Linked DNA regions of Homo sapiens: all the other regions are linked to region 1. Evidence: promoter capture Hi-C in 16 types of primary human blood cells and fetal thymus (Javierre and others, 2016). All regions are on one chromosome and are shown on one strand. Each heading gives the region's core, a stretch centred on a gene start or on the middle of the fragment in contact. The rest is flanking DNA. Distances are from core to core; before and after follow the strand shown.

The links. Contacts are between HindIII fragments. The CHiCAGO score rates a contact against its expected background, and 5 or more counts as called.
Region 2: a fragment that was not itself captured here is called in contact with the fragment with the promoter of DIAPH3-AS1 in region 1 in 1 of 17 cell types (M1 macrophages); the score reaches 5.7 in M1 macrophages.
Region 3: a fragment that was not itself captured here is called in contact with the fragment with the promoter of DIAPH3-AS1 in region 1 in 1 of 17 cell types (erythroblasts); the score reaches 6.5 in erythroblasts.

Annotation. Positions count from the first base shown.
Region 1 is chr13:60,010,697-60,015,307 of GRCh38, reverse strand. DIAPH3-AS1 (DIAPH3 antisense RNA 1) reads right to left here and starts at 2,590. Exons shown (of 5, transcript NR_109838.1): 1 at 2,450-2,590. The region is part of intron 7 of DIAPH3 (diaphanous related formin 3); the gene reads left to right. The HindIII fragment of the contact is 1,896 bases long and covers 810-2,705 here.
Region 2 is chr13:60,425,067-60,429,677 of GRCh38, reverse strand. The region is part of intron 1 of TDRD3 (tudor domain containing 3); the gene reads right to left. LOC124903178 (a long non-coding RNA gene) reads left to right here. Exons shown (of 3, transcript XR_007063814.1): 3 at 706-792. Among named protein-coding and RNA genes, the nearest start is that of TDRD3, 30 kb to the right of the region's middle. The HindIII fragment of the contact is 1,924 bases long and covers 1,097-3,020 here.
Region 3 is chr13:60,328,788-60,333,398 of GRCh38, reverse strand. All of the region lies in intron 1 of LOC105370228 (a long non-coding RNA gene), which reads right to left. Among named protein-coding and RNA genes, the nearest start is that of LINC00434, 63 kb to the right of the region's middle. RefSeq lists a silencer at 3,631-3,700. The HindIII fragment of the contact is 6,341 bases long and covers 1-4,611 here.

The sequences.
Region 1 (4,611 bases), core at 1,341-3,840:
ATTAGAAGGGAGAAACCTGCTTGTGGCTCTCACCTATAATCTTACCGCTTTGGGATGCCGAGGCAGGAGGGATTGCTTGAGGCTAGGAGTTTGAGACCAGCCTGGGCAACATAGTGAGACGCCATCTCTACAAAAAGTAAAACAAATAGCTGGGCATGGCGGCACATGCCTGCAGTCCCAGCTACTCAGGAGGCTGAGATGAAAGGGTGGCTTGAGCCCAGGAGTTTGAGGTTATAGTGAACTGTGATCGAATCACTGCACTCCAGCCTGGGAGACAAAGTGAATCCCTGTCCTTAAACAAAACAAAACAAAACAAAACAAAACAAAACAAAACAAAAAAACTAGAAAAAAAGAGGAATTCTTAAGCTCTTTACTGAAGTTAGATTTTAGGTTTATCTAGCAATGTTTCTTTTTTGCTTTTATACTGTTAACTGTAGAAATTAGCATTATCCTATGCTGTTTCTTTAAGCTCCAGCATCTAAACACATTTACCTCATGATGTGTGAAGTGATGATAGGTGTTTAAGTTGCTGTTAGACAGCAGGGGGGGAAATTTTACCTGTGGTGGTACGATTATTTTTGTTTTATAGCAAAAGCATCTGTATATTTCTGATTAATTTTAATTATAATATTTTGCCTTATTCTAATTTAAAAACAAACTTTTATAGGGCTACACACTTAAGTACTAGTACGTAAATTATTGATTTATTTTATATTTATTTTACTACATGTATTAGCAAATATTTATATTTTCTAATTATTTTTGTCTTGTTAAACTGTGTATTTTTAAGCATTTTCTGGAGCTAAGCTTTCTATTTTTAACCAATGAAATATTTTTTCTTCCTTGCCTCCTCTAAACAGATATTATTTTCAAAGAAAATATGTGATGTAGGAATCACAACTCCTTTCTATGCTGAATTCACGGTTCTTTGAAAATCAGATATTAGATATATAAGGTAGCTTTTTACATATCTGTTTTAAGAGTAAATGAATGAAAGAATCAAATTGCTGATAGGGAGAGGTCTTTGCCCACTAAGTACATAGAACTGGTTTAGGAAGCCCTTTTTAAAGTGAGAATATAGAAATTGGAAATTTCATTGGTGATGGAAAAGCCAAAAGTAGAAAAAATCTAGGAACTTTTTTTAAACCAAAGGGACATTTGGATCATAATTTGAATTTAAGAAGAATATCATGGTTAAATTAAGGTGGTAAATAGAAGATAATATTCTTACTTTGTTTCATAATGAATCTGAGGAAGATTGAACTTTATTTTCTAATTAATATACTATTTTTCTCTTAAGAGATTTTTGTTGCTTGTAGTTTATATACATGGAGCTATAAAATATTGCCATTTTATTTGGTGCTTTTATCTGTGTTATTAAGAATAAAAAGTTAATTTAAGTTATTGTTACTTAGTATTATAGTGTCTGAACTCTAAACCTAGCAATATGTGAAATTTTTGGTGAAGTTTTTTTTCCCTTCAAGATTGGTTAATGGTTGTCTTAATCTTTATTTGATCACATCTATAAGTACAAAATTTGTTAAACCTCACTTATACAGTCTTTATTAGCATTCATTGAATGGTGAAAATATAAGTTTTAAGAGGAAAAAAATGTGGTACCTTATTTGGTACTAGTAATTAATTATACAATTAATGGGCAAATTTGATAACATTACATGAAAGTGAATTTCTTATAACATTAAATTGGACTAAGAGTATTTTTTAAATGGAAGAGAATTTTAATTGCGTAGGGGAAAGAAAAGATAATAAGGATGAAAAGTTAGTATATTCAAATTGAAAGGTAATTAGAACAGAGACTTCAGTTTGGTCAGTTAACTGTGTGTGTTGCTTTGAAGAGTGCACCCAAGGTGCGGGTGCTTTGCTTCTGAAGCCAGCAACTTTAACCACATTATTTCTGCTACTGGGATTAACTCACTGTGGGTGGCTGCTCAGCACTAGTAGTCATGCTGTGTGCGTCCAGATGTTGGGCGTCCTACACGAGGATTTAGAGCATTAACTTTCCTCTACCTAAAACATCATCTTCAGTGCCTGAAATTCCATCTATTAGCTAATAATAGGCCTCATGTGGAATGCAGGCGGAACCTGGCATTGATCCTCAGTTTAGAACAGGCCAGTTACCATATTGTCCGGAGTGGGTCCTTGACATTCAGGAAAGATACATCCTTAGACCTTTCAAAATTTGTCATGCCTCTCTAACCTAAAACAGCCCTCATTAAATGCACTTTAATCCGAGCACTGGTAAGTTGACAACTTCTCACACAGAGTCAACAGTTTTTGTTTTGTTTTGCTATGTTTTTTAAATAATTGAGAGTAATTTATACAAGTAGCAATTCTGTATTTATAGATACTGAGTAGTAGTAATTGGCCTCATTCCAGTCTTAAAATGAGTGTGACACATTTTTGCATTACCAAAATCAGAGAACGTTACCTGTGATGGACTTTTGGGGTCACAGGATGATGGTTAAAACTGTGAAATCAGAGTATGCTCCTATTTCACCTTTCATACATGATAGGTTAGGGCCAGAGGGTTTGGCAGAGAAGGCAGGTAGTATCACTTGGAGGAAGTCAGCATGAGTCACCTTGGGTGGCTGGAGGAGTCACAGGATTCTGATTCTAGAAGGGCAGGTGTTAGCTAAGGACAACCAGGTAGGTGGGAAAAGAAGGGGAAATGCTAGAGGCAAGCTTTACTCAATTCCCAGATTTATTAGGACAGAGCCAGCTCTTGTGTACTTGGTAATCATTGACTGACTTTCTGAATTGAATCTAAGTGGTACTTTATAAACCTGACAATTCCCTGGAATGATTAGCAAGGCATATTGTAGTTTCTGGTCCTGTGCCTGCCTTTTCATTCTTTTTCCAGTTAGGTAATAGCCCAGGCTATCATAAAAGTAAGTATTTCCTGACTGTTTAGCTGTCTTGTTGTAAACTTTTCCCTATTACTAACAAGACAGAGTAATCTCTCCAAAATTCATATTCTTGGGCCCTTGGCCTTTCCTCATACTTTCTCCATTGTTCCTGTGTTTCTCAGATAGTGGTTTAAAGTAAATGGAGTATTTCAGCCCAGTACAAGGTTTCTTTGCATAAATGGCCATATACAAGATAGGAAAGTTATAAATAGGATTTTATCACAATCAAAGTACTTGGGTCTAAGCTGGTTATAGATTCAACTTCAATGCTTACATGTAGTGCTGATTTTGAGTTTAGTTCATAGGCTTGTAATTGGGAATAAGGCCCTTTTTTAGTGTTTGGTAGTAACTCTGATTAGTCAGTTCTCATGCTTTAGTAGGATCCTCTGAGATGCATGCTAGATAAATAGTACTGTTTTATTGTTTCTATTCATCTTCTGTATTTTGACAGTTATCTTTCATAGATACATCATTAACATAACTTATCTTCTAATTGGATTTGACTTCCTGGCAGTAGTAAATAAACTTTATCCTAATCCCAATCGTCTCATTTATAGAATGAGTTTACAACTGCATTGTTTTCCTTATAATAAATACCATTGTGATTAGAATACCTGTGCCCATTGTGGCAGTTTCTACATGGTATCTGCTCAAATCATCCTTCAGTTTTTGCTTATTTATGAACTAAGTGCTAATATCTAGGCCTGTATTTTGTAATATGGTAGCTACATGTGGCTTCTGAGCATTTGAAGTGTGGCTAGTCTGAATTGAGATGTGCTACAGTATAAAATACACACTGGATTTCAACTATTTAGGAAGAAAAAGAAGTGAAATGTCATCAATAAATGTTTTATATTGGTTATATGTTGAAATGGTAATATTTGGGGTATATTGGATTAATTTTATTGAAAATAGTTTTGCTTGCTTGAAATTTTTAAATTACTCATGTGGTTTACATTATATTTCTCTTGGACAGTGTTGATCTGTGTGTTTGCTTATGATAATATATCTCTTACCAACCTTCCTTCCCAGGAAAAAGATTTTCATGGCCTCAGTGTCTGGTTCCGTATCTGGCTGTTTGTTTCATATGCTTCTGTTGGCAAATCCCATGTTTCTGACTGCTTCCCACTTTCTCAATTTGGCTACTTAACCTGTCTTAATAATTGTCAGCTGTATTGTTGTAAGATCACCTTGAGTTATCTTTATTTGGTTTAGTTTTGTGGTTCTTGACATAAAGTGAATACCCTTATGAACTTTTTATTTTATTTTTTTTTTGAGACGGAGTTTTGCTCTTGTTGCCCAGGCTGGAGTGCAATGGCGTGATCTTGGCTTACTGCAATGTCCACCTCTCGGGTCCAAGTGATTCTCCTGCCTCAGCCTACCGAGTAGCTGAGATTACAGGCATGCACCACCATGCCTGGCTAATTTTGTATTTTTAGTAGAGAGGGGGTTTCTCCATGTTGCTCAGGCTGGTCTCAAACTCCCGACCTCAGGTAATCTGCCCGCCTCTGCCTCCCAAAGTTCTGGGATTACAGGCGTGAACCACCGTGCCCAGCCATGAACTTTTTAGAGTGTTACACAGTCTATATTTTTTAGCTTTAGTAAGTGTAAAAATGTCCTATAAATTTTTTTTAATAACTACATTTCCTTCAGGGTATTATTTTTCTAACTAATTTCTAACATT
Region 2 (4,611 bases), core at 809-3,308, 410 kb before region 1:
AAAGTGTCAGAAAGAAGGAAATACCTTTATTATTTATTTTGTTTAAATCATTCAGTTTTACAATTGAAAGTTTTTTAACAATAAGAAAGTAAGTTATTCCATTAGACTGTGCAACTGTTTCTGCCTGGAACAGAATTTCTAATGCAAAATGAACTGCTATTGTTTTTGTTCAACCTGCCATTTATGTCAAAATTTAAAACAATAATGTCAAGAAAGAGCTAGTAAGCAATAAAGTTTAAAATTATATTGCACAGAGAAAAATTAGCCATTTTACAATTTACATTTAAAATTTATTTAATGTCATTCAAACTCTTAAAAATGAAAATCTACTTCAATTATCATAGGCAGTTAAGACAAATACCTATTTGTTTCTAGTATATGCAATCATATGTCTTACAATCTAATAGCATAACGATTCCCTGTACATTAAAATGAAGTAAAAAATGAAAGAGGCATATAAAAAGCACAATATTACAATTAAAAAGGGCAGCCATTTAAATGTGTCACTAAACAGGTAAATACTAAACAATAAATTTTTTGTCAAAAGAGTGAAATAGTCCCATATATATGTCAGCTGATAAATATGAATTAGTAATTCTCATTTCCATTTCTTTAAAATGCATCTTAAATACAAAGTGCTTAGTGTTGCTTACATTTTTGAAATAGAAATGCTGCAAATAAATTAGATATTTTTTTCTATTGAAGGAGACCAGGAAATTTCACCCCAAAATATGGCACCCTGGTATGCTGATTATTTTAAATTAAAGGCCCTTGGAGACTGGCAGATACTAGAAGAAGCTTTACTCTGATACTCCCTTATCTGCTTAAACTCCAGACTCTTCAAAGAAGAAAATTACCACTGGTCCTTTCCTTGAGTTTTCATTAACTCATACTGCAGGAATAAAGACTGAAGTCTGTCAACACACCTGGACAGAACCACTGTCTTCTCTGTGGGCCCACAAGGCTTTGTCTCAGGATGCACGAGGACGTATGTCTCAAGACGTATGTTCTCCAAGCCCATTGAATTCCCCTAAAAATCACTTTTCACCTTAAAATTATCCACATCTCCCTTTCCTCTGTGAAGAGTATATAAGCTTCTGTACCCCCACTGCACTATTGTATAAACAATCATTCTCTTGTAATTCCCTTGTGCTATGCACGATAAAATTAATTTTGCATGCCTCTGCTATTAATCGGCCTTTCTTCAGCTGATCTTCAGCAAACCTTCAGAGGCAGAAGGGAAAATTTTCCCTTGGCCCCTATATTAACTTAGAAAACATAATTTGACTACATCCCCCATACCTCTTCATAGTAGCCTGAATGGTGGCCCACAAAAAGATATGCTTATGTCCTAATGCCTGGGAATCTGTGAATGTTACTTTATTTAGAGACAGTCTTTACAGAAGTAATTAAATTAAGAACTTTGAAATAAGAAAATCATACTAGATAATCCAGGCAGGTCCTAAATCCAATGACAAGTGTTTTTATAGGAGAGAGGCAGAGGGAGTTTAAAAATAAACACACAGAGTAAAGTGACACACAGAAAAGTAAAAGGCCATATGAAGCTGGAGGCAGAAACTGGACTGATGATGCCTCAAGCCAAGGAATGTCAGCAACCACAGAAGCTGTAAGGGGTAAGTTACTGATTCTCCCCTAAAGCCTCTGCAGGGAGAACAGCTCCAAAGACATTTTGATTTCAGACTTCTGATCTCCAGAACTGTTAAGTGAATAAATTTCAATTGTTTTAAGCCACCCAGCTTGTGGTAATTTGCTACCGCAGCCACAGGAAATAAATATACCCATTACAAATTCCAGTAATTACTTGAGAAGTATTGATTTAATTAAATAAAAAACATTATTTTGAAAGGCCATCCATCCCTTAGCTTAGAATCTAGAAGGACATTTTCTATTCAACTTAAAATGCCTTGATTCATTATCTCTTCCTGAATGAATACTTTCAGTGAACCTTATTGGTTAGCTTAAGTCTATAAATAAGAAAATACAAATTACACAGAGTGTCAGTGGCCCTTCTTATTATACAGAAAAGGATAGTGGGTAAACCAGGAGCACTGAACAGTGTGGAGAGATCAGTCAAAGGAAAGACGTAGAGAGGGGATCACCAAACTCTGTCTACCTACACCTGACTGACCTCCAAATGACACGTGCGAAGCCGACTCCAAACATCCCAGCTGAAGACAAAAGATTTGAAAAGAGGATGGAGCTGCTGCATTAGAAACGAAACTGCAGTTCAAACCCAGCCTCCCCACAAAAAAAAAGTACCTTTAATAACACAGGAAACAATATTCATCAGTGTAAAACAGAACAAAAATCTTTACAATTTAACACTATTAATATGCACTACAAAATCCAAAATTACCCAACATACAAAGAACGAAAAAATGGAACACATTCTGAAGAAAAAACAAAATCAATCAAATCTGTCTGATGCCAAGATGAACCTGATGCTGAAAATAATAAAGATTTAAAGTGGATATTACAGCTATTTGCTCTTAAGAAAAAAAAGTTTTCAATACAGTCACACTCCACATAACATTTTGGTCAATGACAGATACATATATGACTGTGGTCCTCTAAGATTAAAATACTGTATTTTTACTGTATCTTTTCTATGTTTACATATTTTTTAATATACAAATATGTTTAAATACATAAATACGTACACAATACTAAATTGTGTTACAATTGCCCACAGTATTCAGTACGATAACATGCTGTACAGGTTGGTAGCCTAGGAGCAACAGGCTATGCCATATAGCCTATGCGCGTAGTCGGCAATACCATTAAGGTTTGTGTAAGAACACTCTGTGACGTTCCCACAGTGACAAAGTTGCTTGAGAACACATTTCTAGAACATACCCCATAAAGTGATGAATGACAGTATATGGTATGTGAAGGTTTTATAGAATTCCTCTGTGAAACCATTTGTCCCTTGGTGCTTTTATGGAGTAATCTCTCCTTAATTTTCTCTATTTCTTCTATAACATTGGTCTGCTTAAGCTTTCTAACTCTAATGGGGGCAACTTTGGTCATCTGTACTTTCCTAGAAAACTACCCATTTCATATAGGTTTTTAGAATTATTTGCAAAGTGTCTCATGACATTTAAAAAAATTTTTATTGTGTATATTCAAGGTTTACAACATGATGTTACAGGATACATATAGATAGTAAAATAGTTACCATAGTGAAGCTTATTAACATATCTATCATCTCACAGTTACTTTTTGTGTGTGACAAGGGCAGCTAATATCTACTTATTTAATAAAAATCTCTAATTTTAATAACTTTAGTCCTCATGTTGTACATCTCTCAACTTGTTCATCCTACAGATCTATTTTTTGTCCTTGGACCCACATCTCCCCATTTCCTCTGCCCTCCCCACTGCCTGTGGTAACCACTGTTTCATTCTCTATTTCTATATTTGAGCTCTTTTTTGGTTTATAATATTGCACATATAAGTAAGATCACATAATACTTTTCTTTCTGTGTCTGGCTTTTTTCACTTAGCATAACATCCTATAGGTCCATTCATGGGTGAGAAACGGCAGGATCTCCTTCTTTTTAAAGGCTCAATTATATCCCATTGTAAATACAAGTCACCCTTGAACTCGGGTGTTAGCAGCACCAACCCCTGCACAGTTGAAAATCTGAGTATAAATTCTGACTCCCTAAAAACTTAACTACTAATAGCCCACTGCTGACCAGAAGCCTTACCAATAACATAGTCAATTAATACATATTTTGTATATGTATAATGTACTATATTCCTACAATAAAAAGAAAATGTTACAAAAACCATATGGAAAACATATTTACTGTTCATTATGTGGAAAGAGACCATCATTAAGGTCTTCATCCTCATTGTCTTCATGTTGAGTAGGCTGAGGAGGAGGAAGAAGAGGAGGGGTTGGTCTTGCTGTCTCAGTGGTGGCATGGTAGAAATCAAAGAAAATCCACGTATAAGTGAACTCACACAGTTCAAATCCGTACTGTTCAAGATCAACTGTATATACCACATTTTCTTTATTCATTTTTCCATCGATGGACATTAGATTGTTTCCATAGCTTGGCTACTGTGACTACTGCTGCAATAAACTTGGAAGTGCAAATATCTTTATGAGGTAGTGATTTCATCTTCTTTGGATATATACTCAGAATAGGGATTGCTAGGTCATACTGTAGTTCTATTTTTAATTTCTTTAGGAGTTTCCATACTGTTTTCCACAAGGGCTGTACCCATCTACATTCCCATCAACGGTGTACTAGGGTGTTTCTCCACACCCCTGCCAACATTTGTTATCTTGTATCTTTTTTGATAATAGCCATCCTTATAGGTGTGAGGTGATACATCATAGTGGTTTCAATTTGCATGTCCCTGATCATTCGTGATCTTGAGCACCTTTTCATACACCTCTTAGACATTTTTATGTCTTCTTTGGGGAAAAGTTTATTCAGATCGTTTGCCCATTTTTTAATCAAATTATTTTTAATGTATTCTGTTTCAAAGATGACTTCTCTTTGTTATTTCTTATTTTACATAGTTATGCATTTTTTCCTTGAATAAGTTAGCTAATGGTTTGTCTATTTTGTTA
Region 3 (4,611 bases), core at 1,166-3,665, 320 kb before region 1:
GAAATAGAAAATAGAATGAAAATATTGGGATAAGAAGATAAATGGCTAAGAGAATTCCAGAATGAAATGAAGACATGAGACCTCAGACTAAAGAAGCATACTTTATTCTGAGCTAGATAAATGAAACAAATCCATTCTTAGACATATAGTGAAATTGTGGGATAAAGTAATCAAACTTACAAGTCATGAGAAAATCTTAGAAATAACCAGAGAAAAAACAGATTAACTTTTAAAGTGGACTATCAGCATGAGCACTGAGTTTTCACTGGAAAGAGATGTGTTTTTTTTAAGGGCTAAGAGTAAGTATAGTAAGCTAAATTTTATTCTAAAGTGAAGGCAAATTGAAGATACTTCAGATTTACTGATACCATCTAAAAGAAGCATAAGTTGGTCGACCTTTCCCTCTCACACAGCAGTTTTCTTTTGAACTGAAATATTGCCCAAAGTGGAGGGGAAAACTGACAAGTACAGTAAACTCCACTTCTAGGTAAGGGAATCTGTAATATTTCAAGTACTGGGAAGGACTTCCTCTTTTACCACCTGCCCTGCTAAAAGAGATTTTTAGTTGTCTTCTTAAGAAAATTCCTGTTACCTAAAAGAAAAAATAGCTTTGATAAACACCAACTTTTGTTTCAGTGAGAAAGATGCTGAAGGAACCATAGGATTTTGACTTCAAGATGTCCAGAATAAAGGCTTTCCTTTAATAATTTCATGTACAGCTATAAACCCAAAATATTGCTTTCTCTCCAGCTGGTATACCCATCCTTGGGGCAGAAGATTAGGGACATGCAACTTTTGGAATTTTAGATTTGTGGCAAGCCAATTCTTCCTTGTGTAGGTCTGTCCTGTGCATTGCAAGTTTAGCATCTCTGGTCTCTACCCACTTATTGCCAATAAATCTCCCACCCACACTATTTTAAAAACTAAAAATTTCCCCATATTTTTGGAAGACCGGTTCTGTGTCACCGCAGAACTAATTGCTTTTCTTTTCCAGTAACCTCCAGAAATACCAATTAGCTCAGTGCTTATCTAAAGATAGCACTTACCGCCTTCATCAGCCATCTTATCACCCAGCCATTTAAACAAACTTGGCTGCAACCAGAACAGCAGTTTTGCTCTGATTGGTGCTAATTCCCAATCTCTGTCCAATTATAGCCAATGCAATCTACAAAATACAATGTTCCCTAATGAATCAATCATATTAAAGTCAGCTCAAGTTATGAAAACTCATGTTGTAGCAGAGAAGCCTGCACTCCTGAGACCTCTGCACACTTTTTGTTCCCCTGTACATTGGCAAATCTTTCAACTTGTTCTCAGTTCTGAGCTCTGAGTACAAACCCTTTCCACCTCTTACCCACCCACCTAGAAATCGAACCTCAGATTCATATTGTGTAGAATACATTAGGTCAGAAGTCTAAAGAAATCAGTATTTAAGCCCATTTGAAAGTCAGTGAGAAATTTGAGAAGAGAAGCATTACTTCCCTCCTGGAGACAGAGCACTCTCAAAATTATAAATAAATAAGAGGCAGGAAAGAGTGAAATGTTTCCTGCTGAACTCTCTCCTTCCACCCCTCCTCCTCAGGCATAATGGGACCAGGCAAGTAAGGAAACCAGGGAGAACCTTAGAAACTGTGTGTTCTCTTGTTTTCTCTTTTGGGTGTGGTGAAAATCTTCAAATAGGAAATCAGTTCTATTCTTTTATAACACAACGTTTTCTGATAAAGAAAAATATTCTCTCCTATTAGAAGATATAATGAGAAAAATGTGATCAGTAAAGACAGTTAGTAACAAAGTGATGAGGTAAGAAACGGGCTTACTTTAGTGGACAGGGCTTTTTGGAGGCAGCAGACAGGGCCTTGTTGAGATTGAGCTGCCCTGTAGCATCACAGGCAGAAAACGCAGAGGAGATCCTCTGTAAATGCAGAGAGGAAATGCAGCAAGGTGTCAGACTGCACCTGAGGCTTAGGAGGCAGCCTGCAGAGGACTGACAATGGACAAATCAGCAGCCCAGAGAAGGAGCAGCCCGTTGGTGCTGTGCTCCACAGATAAGATGGGTGTCCAGGGGAAAATATGCAGGAGAGCAAAACTGCAGAAAAAAAGAAAATTATGCTCATATCAGGACATTCATACACAGGACAGCAAGGACTAAATCCAAAGATTTATATCTTCCTTCCTTCCTTCCCTCCCTCCTTTCCTTTCTATTTTTTTTTTTTTTTTTGAGACGGAGTCTTGCTCTGTCGCCCAGGCTGGAGTGCAGTGGTGCGATCTTGGCTCACTGCAACCTCAGACTCCCAGGTTCAAGCGATTCCCCTGTCTCAGCCTCCCAAGTGGTTGGGATTACAGGCACGTGCCACCAGGCCCGGCTAATTTTTGTATTTTTAGTAGAGATGGGGTTTCACCATGTTGGCCAGGCTGGTCTTGAACTCCTGACCTCAAGTGATCCGCCTGCCTCAGCCTCCCAAAGTGCTGGGATTACAGGCGTGAGCCACTGCGCCTGGCCAAAGATTTATATATTCATCCATCCATTCCTTCATTCAAGGAGTCTTTAGGAAGCTATAATTCCATGCCTGGCAATGTGCAAGGTGCTGCCCCAAAGTGAGCATAATAAAATCCCCTTTGGAGTTTGGCGAGGAAGACTCACAAATAAACAGACACAAAACAATGTGATCAAGTGATACAGAAGAATACAGGATGCTGGGGAAAGAATGGAGTTTTCCTGGGGTTATAGAGAAGGCTGGAACATACTTCACAGACTGTTTCTTTCAAGGGCGAATAGAAAAGCCAAGATGTAAATGTATAGGTCCAGATGCTGACGTGTAGGAACTGCAATTCATTTACAATGGTCAGAACCTCAGTTGTCTATGGGAGAAGGTGGGGAGAAGGCTAGAGAATAGGCCCATGAAAGGCCTGCCATGTAAGAAGTCTTGGCTTCATGTTGTAAGAAATTCAGAGAAAGAGCTTCTAAACTTGGAAAATCCTGTGGTCTAAATGTTTCCATACCCTGAGAATTCATTTGTTGAAACCTAATCCCCAATGCAACAAAATTAAAATGTGCAGCCTGTAGGAGGTGATTTTTCAAGAGGGATTCACCCTCATGAGTGGGATTAGTGCCCTTAAAAAAGAGGCCTAAGAGAGCTCGTTTCCCCCTTCTACCATGTGAGGACACATAGAAGGCACCACCTCTGAGGAATGGGTACTCACGAGACACCAAATCAGCTGGCACCTTGATCTTGAACTTCTCATTCTCCAGAACTGTGAGCAATACATTTTTATTGTTTATAAATTACCCAGTCTAAGGTATTTTGTTATAGCAGCCCAAATAGACTAAGACAGAAAACATGGCCAACATTTATTAATGATGCCCAACACTCATTTCCAACTTCCTTCTTCCTTGCTCATCTCTCCCTCTCTAGAAGCTGGAAAAAAACAAAACAAAACAAAAAACAACAAAACAAAACAAAACCCATATATTTACTTTCCTGGTCTCCCTTGTAGCTTGCATGACCATGGACCCAGTTCTGGCCAACGTGACCTGAGAGGTCTCATGGGCAGGCTTCTAGGAAAGGTTTCTCTCTCCCTGATAAACAGGAACAGGCCTGTGGGAGGAGCTCTCTCACCACTCTGGCCTCACTCTTGCTTCTTGTCTTTAAATTTTGAGGCCCGAGAATGTGGTGCCTGGTGCTGCAGGGATGTCCAAGATAATCACAAAGACATCAAGCAAGTACCCTAAAATCTGGAGCTGCTGATCTAATCCTCAAATCATATGCCTCCAGGCTTTTGTTACATAAACAGTAAGAATTCTTATGGCTTAGGTCAATATCAGCTGGAGTTTTCTATTACATGCTGCCCAAAACATTTCTAAGAGAGTTAATAATTTGTAAGTAGTTACTAAGAATTACTACAATGTGGTATTCATAAATTAAATTAAACTTATTTTGGAATTTACTAGGGACTCTAAATTAACATTCTACTGGCTTTTAAACAAATTTGCAAACTGCTCACTATTTATACATTGCAGATACTTGAAATTCTTTCTGCTTTTTGAAAGTACCCTTTATCATCAGTGTATCAACAGTATTATGTTGGGTTAGTCATAATTTTCTTCACTACTAGTCTTACTCTTTAATTATATAGGACTGTTCACTTCATCATTATTAATCTAGTTTATTTTGCATTCTTTGGTTAAACTTATAGTGTAGGCTTATTTTCATTTGATCTATAAATTTCCAAATAATAGACTTTACTTCATGTATACATTGTGGTTCCAAATAGAGCTCAACAATGTTGCTACTGATAAAGGAGTAACTCTCAACAAAAAGTTATTTGTCCACGTTTCGTTGGTGTTAGGCTACCAGCGGATTTGTGATTTTTTTTTTTTTAACTTACAATGCTATCACGGTGTCATATTATTACTGGATTATTTTTAAGATTATCTATGAAATCATGCTTATATGTTACGAACAATTCATGTGTATTATGAAATGCAAATGTTTCCTAGTTTCCTCTTTTCCCCTTTCAGGGAAGCATTCTCCAATCTATAAGGGTTGCCAGGTTTGGTCTTACATTTCTTTGGAATACTCCTCTAAGACTGCCAAACAGCACTGCTAATCA